Linked DNA regions of Homo sapiens: region 2 is linked to region 1. Evidence: promoter capture Hi-C in 16 types of primary human blood cells and fetal thymus (Javierre and others, 2016). All regions are on one chromosome and are shown on one strand. The core of a region is centred on a gene start or on the middle of the fragment in contact, and the rest is flanking DNA. Distances in the headings are between cores, read along the strand shown.

What was found. Contacts are between HindIII fragments. The CHiCAGO score rates a contact against its expected background, and 5 or more counts as called.
Region 2: a contact is called between a fragment that was not itself captured here and the fragment with the promoter of GALNT3 in region 1, in 1 of 17 cell types (total B cells). The highest score is 6.1, in total B cells.

What each region holds. Positions count from the first base shown.
Region 1 is chr2:165,792,500-165,795,975 of GRCh38, reverse strand. GALNT3 (polypeptide N-acetylgalactosaminyltransferase 3) reads left to right here and starts at 1,729. Exons shown (of 11, transcript NM_004482.4): 1 at 1,729-1,961. LOC124906086 reads right to left here and starts at 2,390. Exons shown (of 6, transcript XM_047446887.1): 1 at 2,184-2,390; 2 at 1,639-2,057; 3 at 897-1,176. The coding sequence starts at 2,390. RefSeq lists silencers at 1,787-1,936, 2,007-2,096 and enhancers at 1,167-2,072, 2,073-2,979. The HindIII fragment of the contact is 5,078 bases long and covers 1-2,794 here.
Region 2 is chr2:164,750,877-164,754,232 of GRCh38, reverse strand. The region is part of intron 2 of COBLL1 (cordon-bleu WH2 repeat protein like 1); the gene reads left to right. Among named protein-coding and RNA genes, the nearest start is that of SNORA70F, 65 kb to the right of the region's middle. The HindIII fragment of the contact is 6,801 bases long and covers 1-3,356 here.

The sequences.
Region 1 (3,476 bases), core at 480-2,979:
TCTGACAATCTTTGGCTCTTCATTCAGAGATGGGTGGTGCGTGCAAAAGGGTACAGGTTTCTTGGTTATACATTTAGGATACCTTACAAATTTTCCAAAGACTAACATTAACCTCTGGTTAGGGGTAAACGACAAAGTGGCACAACGAAGAAGAAGGAGAAGGAGAAGAGAATTTCAGTAGTTAGTATTTTCAGTTCTGGACCTGGACCTAAGGAAAAACACTGCCAAGTTAGTATATCAATACACACAAGTATCTCCTGAACTATTTTTTTGTTTGTTTGTTTTTGGAGGGAAAGGGAGCTTGGCAATTGCTTGTAGGTACTGATATTAAAATGTTGCAAATACATGGAGGTTCCTTGGTGCTCGCAAAATAACCATGACATGTAAAACAAGCAAAGAACTACCTAGTTTACTAAAGTCTTAAACCCTAACTCATAGATGTCCTAGTATAAAATAGCACTATGGATGCTAAAACCAATGTCTTAGAGTAGTCAAATACTAAAGATACACTTGTTGATACTATACTAAACTGTATTTTAAACCTTATTTTTAGGTCACGCATAGCACTAATAAAACAGTGAATAAGCACCATAAGAGCATGTCAAAATGTAGGAGGAAGGCCACAACTAAACTTCATAGTAAAACCTACCACCATGTGATTAAACACGACACCAAAAAGTTTTTAGCTAGTTTTCTATTTATATCCCTAGATATCTTTGGGATAGGGCCAAAGAAATGAGTTCATAGAAAGGTATAAAGGCCATTTTAAGTCCTGGTTTTGGGTGTGTCAATGTTTGTTGCAGCAGCAGAAGGAAGGCTGAAACAGAAAGTTGTGTCATAAATGGAACAAATACTGTTTAACAATTTTTTTTTGTCTTAAAAACAGCAAAACCCACCATCTTCCTGGAGTCTGCGTTGTTCTCTTCCAGAATAGATGTTGAGCTTTTAAACAAACCTGCAGTAGAAGCAAGCCCTCTCCAGGAAATCCCAATCTCTTTCCAAACAGGGACAGCAAAGGTTCTCTCTGTTGTGGCTGTTTTTCCCTCTCTTCTGGGAATTGGTTTGCCTTCTGAGAGCATCCCAGGAAGGGGAGGTGCGCCCCAAATTGGCGAGGCTCTGCCAAATACCAAAGGCTCTTCTTTGGAAGAAGACTCCTCCTTTGGACGTGAGGCGCCCCTACCAGAGCGCCCGCGTACAGAAACGGAAACCACTAGCTGCGCTGAAGTGAGTCAAGTGATGAAATCAAGACTACACGGGAAGGAAGCTCACGAAACCTAACTGGTGACAGAAGCTGCTGAACCCTGCCCGAAGAAACCACATGAGCCAGCAGTTGCTGCCCTCCCGAAGTGGTCCTCGGAGGCAGCGCACCCCTTCATTTTGGCGAACCGAGGAGGAAGGGAGGAACCGTGTGGGGGAAATCTAGAACTTCTGGTTCCCCAAGGACCCAGCAGACTGTGTTCTGGCTACAAGGTGATCACTGCCACCAGGTCAGTGCAGGATTCCTCCAATGTAGATGGGCCGGGAGCCACAACTTGCGCGGAGCAGCAGCCTCGCCGACCACTCAGAGAGAAGCCGCGCGACAGCCAGGCTTGGCCCGGACGGCGCCCCCACCCTGCGCGCGCGATCCAAGGTTCTCACCTGGAGCGCTCAGGTAGGGCTGGGGCGGGGCGGGAGGCTGGCGCGCAGGCGCGGAAGTGGGGCCTCGCCCCTGCCGACGTCGCAGGCTGGAGCTCACCTGGGAGACTCCAAGTGGAAGCCGAGCCTCGGTTCTGCCTCTCCAGGCAACGCGGGAGGCCCAGCGGGAAGGCAGGAGGCGGCGGCGGAGGAGGAGCTCTACTGAGCCGCAACTGTGGCGACAGCAACCGGAGTCGCAGCCGCCGCCACCTGCACCTGGCGCCTAGCCCACGTCCAGCGCCTGCCCGGCCGCCGCTTCCCGCCACCCTGCCCTGCCCACCCGCCAGGTAAGCCGGCGGCAGGCGGAGGGAGACGCGGTACCCCTGGGCTGCGTTAGAGCAGGCGGGAGGACGGCCGCAGGGGTTCACGTGTTGGGGACAGGGCTACGGTCCAGGTGGCCGGTTGGAGACGGTCTCGAGAGCAGTGTGTCGGTTGCCCCTGGAGAGATCCCGAAAGGGGCGCCCTGGGCCAAGGGGCAGGTGGCGCCTCGGGGGGGAGCCCGGTCACACCCTCTCGCCCACGGTGCCCCCGCCAGTCCCTATGGGGCGGCCCCTGAGGAGCTGGACGGAGACCAAAGACCTGGTGGCCCCGGACTTGCCCTTGGGAGGGTCGCAGCGTGGGGACCCTGAGAGGGAGGGCCCGGCGGGAGGCGGGCGCGCTTCCACTCCGGCTAGCAGGTTGCCTGTCTCCTCCAGCCTCTCTGCCCGAGAGGACATCCCGCGACAGCGAAAGACATGGCTTTGCCAGGCAACTTTCCTAGCCGGGGACCCCAAACAGTTCTAGGCTGCAAACCGCGGCCGCCGAGCCATTTAAATGGTTTCCGAGTGGTTTGGAAAGGGCTCTGTGGCCGGGACGCGGACACCCCTCTCTCTCTGTTTCGACTCTGCACTTTTCCGGGTGCGCTCTCCAGGCCAGAGTTGGGCCCACTTTCCTGATCAATGGAGAAGAGTTCTTTTCTTCCGTGGCGGGAAGAAATCCAACTGCCACGCACCAACCACTCACCATCTCGTTAGAGGACCTGTTGACTTAAGGACCTGCATATCGCGGCTATGGTTTGCCTGTGGCATATGACTCAAAGGTTCAAAAAAACATTGTTTCAGGATCCTGCCACGTCTAAGCTTGGGTGTGCCAGGCCCAGATTCCTTTCCCTGCCTAATTAGGCTTTTCTGAAGCCTAAGAATTGAGGGTGAAACTGGCGCTTACCTTAGACTTTTATTTCCTTCTCTTTCCAACTCATCAAAGAAACTATTTCTGTTTTAAGAACCCCATCGAGTTACCAATATTTCCGATTCTTGAAAACGTTAACATAACTTGCTATAGAAGTTACACTACATAATGAAGACATTTACAGTCAAATTCTATAGCTAAAAAATATTAAAGTGACAGCATTTTAATTAGAAAATCTCTGCTTGTGGGAAAATCTGTTGCTTCTTTTATTGTATATATTTTTCTTTGCGTTTGTGGCTAAAATCCATGAGGTTAAAGTCACACGCTGCCATTAGATTCTTTTTTTTAATTTAACTTTTAATATCTGAAATCTAGTGCACATGTTAAACTTTCCAAGCAATTTGTACCGAGAATCAATCTTTATATATTGCTTTAACCAACATTTTTACGTAGAAGTTTCTGATAATAATAACAATTCCATTGTTTTGTTCTATCTCCACACATTTTAAAAATATTTTTTAAATTGCACGTTTTACTTAAAATGCCTGATGCAACATGTAGTGGGGTTATTTTTCTTCTTCTTTTTAAGATTAGATGGAAATCTAAAAGCCAACCACAGCATAACATGATGTAAT
Region 2 (3,356 bases), core at 773-3,272, 1.0 Mb after region 1:
GAGTATATAAAAATATTATTTTAACATGTAGTCAGCATACAATAATTACCAATAGATATTTAATACCTTTTACTAAGTCTATGGAATATAGTGTGTATTTTACACTTATAGCACTTCTCAACTCAGATGTTATATTTTCATTGGAAATACCCGATCTGTATTTAGATGTCATGAAATTTATACTTGAAAAAATAGATTCTGGGCCAGCACGGTGGCTCACACCTGTAACTTCAGCACTTTAGGAGGCCGAGGCAAGTGGATCATTTGAGGATAGGAGTTCATGACCAGCCTGGCCAACGTGGTGCGACCCTGTCTCTACAAAAATTAGCTGGGCATGGTAATGAATGCCTATACTTCCAGCTACTCAGGAGGCTGAGGCACGAGAATTGCTTGAACCCAAGAGGCTGAGGTTGCAGTGAGCTGAGATCGTACCACTGCCTTCCAGCCTGGGTGACGGAGTGAGCCTCTGTCTTAAAAAAAAAAAAAAAAAAAATTCCCATACTCAACTTATCCCAAATATACTTAAACATTTTCCAGTAACTGAATCAAGTATCAGTTTTAAAATTCAAATTAAAACTAAATAAACTAAAACTGTAGTCCCTCAGTCACACTAATTATGCTTCAAGTGCTCAGTAGCTACATGGCCGCCATATTGGACAGCAGAGTCCTAGAAGTTTTGCTGCAAAAGAAAGGCGGGTAATGACAAGGTACTTGAAAGAGTACTTGGAAGAAGCAGGCAAGTCGTATTTAAGATAATAGAAATCTCTGCATTTTTTTTTTTTGTTTGTGCACCTTGGAGAGAGAGATTTAAGGTGGCAGAAACATGGGATGTAATTGATGGGACTATGGATTATTGGTCAGACTTAAGTGGAGGTGCTATGGGGGCAGAAAGCCTGAAGTGATGAATGGCTTGTGGTAGGGACTTGGTATTCCAGGTGTTGAAATGTAAAATAATTGAGTGTGGGAGACTGAAACAAGAGCTTTTCAAAATTTTCTTTTGGGTTTGCCATTCCCTTTATCATTTTTTCCTAGTGTGAATGCCAAGAGAGAGAAAAGCACTTGGAAATGGATCCCATTTTCCAGGCTTCTGTTTCCTGTGAGCCTCAGAGGAGACCCTTTCCTGACCAGGAGCAGAAGTGTTCTCAGCATAGGAAGAACTCCCTGGGAATGGGCGTCCTGTCCATGTGACTCTTTCAACCAAATGCTACTTGTAAATTAGTGCAGCCACTGTGCCCTGCCTTGACCCTAGTCCTAACTATCTTGTCTCCATTTCCAGTTTCTAAACAAAATTGTGCATAAATATTTTATGTCAGAGGTAAAGGGGCATGGGATCATCTTGTTCAATACCTGTATTTTGTAAATGAGAAAATGGAAGGCCAGAGAAATTAAGTGATTTACTTACGGTAACACAAGTGGCCATTTAGGATACTCCCAGGCCTTTTGATGTCCAGTATATTGTTTCTCCAACCTCACCTGGGGAAGTAGCTGTCTCAGTGGTAGGGCTGGGGTATGGGTACATCTGGTATCTGCCTTCCTGTTTAAATGTTGAGGCTTATGGCCCTTGCTAGGGTTATTGGGTAGTGGGGAGTGGATTTGGTGGGTTTTCATTTGTAGTTGTCCCATGCTCTCTGTGCTTTTGGGCAAATTTCTTAAACCTCTGTAAACCCCAACTAAATGGCAGTGGTAACTGCCTCATAAGATTAAACGTAGACAAAAAGCACCTGTACAGGACTTAGAAGATATTCAATAACCACATATTTTTTTCTCCTTCACTACCTGGCTTTTGCTCATTCACTTGTTGTTTTTGTTTATTTTGATGAATGTTTAAGATCTCAAAGAAATGATGTAATGTGGTAGTAAAGAGCACCAACTTCAGAATCAGACACCTTGGGTTTAAATTTCAGCTCCACCACTTACTGGCTAAGGAACCTTAGGCAAGTTCCTTAATCTGTCTGCATGTCACCCTCATCTGGAATGTGGAGGTGGCAGCACTTGCTTCATATAGTGTAGTAAGGACACGAGTTAGTGCAGGTAAAAAACATTTTCTAACACACAGTCAACACTCAAGGATTAGCTGCTGTTGATACTGGATAGAAACTACTTTTTCTTGTGTTCTGTTTGGCTTTTACTGTTGGGACATGACACTAGCATTCCATATGTGCTTCTTTGATGTGAATATGCCACTGCCTCTTTGCTTGGTACATTATACCAAGTATAACTGAAAGTTGAGTCCCATTCCTAAAAATGAAAAATTAGATTATTCTTTTCTGATATTAATCATAATTCTCATTGGTCAAAGGAAGCTACAGATTTGAGTCCTGTCCCACAGATTACATGGCTTCAGGCAAATTACCGAGCGTCTGGGCAAAATGAGGGAGTCTTCATACAATCTAAAATTTTGTCAGTCCCAATTTAATCCCTTCCCCAAATAGGAAAACCATTTAGAAACTTCCTGAGGATTGAGATCTTTTATCCATGTGCATGTCTTTGGGGCTTATTTAAACACTGGGAGTTATTTGGGTGGCCTTTGCTAGGGTTATTGGCGGGGGGATTTGGTGGGTTTTCATTTGTAATTGTCCCATGTTCTATGCGCTTTGGGGCAAATTTCTTAAACCTCTGTAAACCCCAGCTAAATGGCAGTGGCAATGGCCTCATAAGATTAAATGTAGACCAAAAGCACCTTTAAAGGACTTAGCAGTAGATATTCATGAATGACTTGAATGACTTCTTATACCTCTGGCTACAGAACAGGTTGACTCTCAGCAACCCACCAAGTTTTTGCTCTCCTATGAACTGATGAAACTAATATGACCTTCCCTCCCTTCCTTCCTCAACTAAATAAAAAAAAATGCTCATAGAGAACCCCATCTTGTGCCAGTTATAGTTCTAGGTGCCAGCAGAGAATGAGACAGGCCACGTCCCAGCCCTCCAGGAATTTTTATTCTGGGGTCAAATAAAAAACAAGGAAATAAGTAAATAAGCAGGATGATTTCAGATAGTGATAAATGTGATGGGGACCAAGCAGGGCTATGTGAAGAGTGGGCCACGATGGGTGGGGTGTGCCTTGGTACCTTTTTTGAGTGGTTAGAGAATACCTCTAAGAGGAGGAAATATTTTATCTGAATTCTGAATGACCTCAAGGAGCAGGCAATTTGAAGTTTTCTGGTTAAAAGCATTTTGGACCGAGGGCAAAGCTATGGAAGGCTCTTGGATGTGAAGAGACTGGGTCTATTTCAGGAAAGAATGCCAGTGTGAATTACATGGGGCATTGAAACTGGGAGTAACAAGAGGGGCGCTGAGGTTGTCTCATTGGTTCTCAGACTTTAGCATACATCAGAATCACTTGGAGAGTTGTC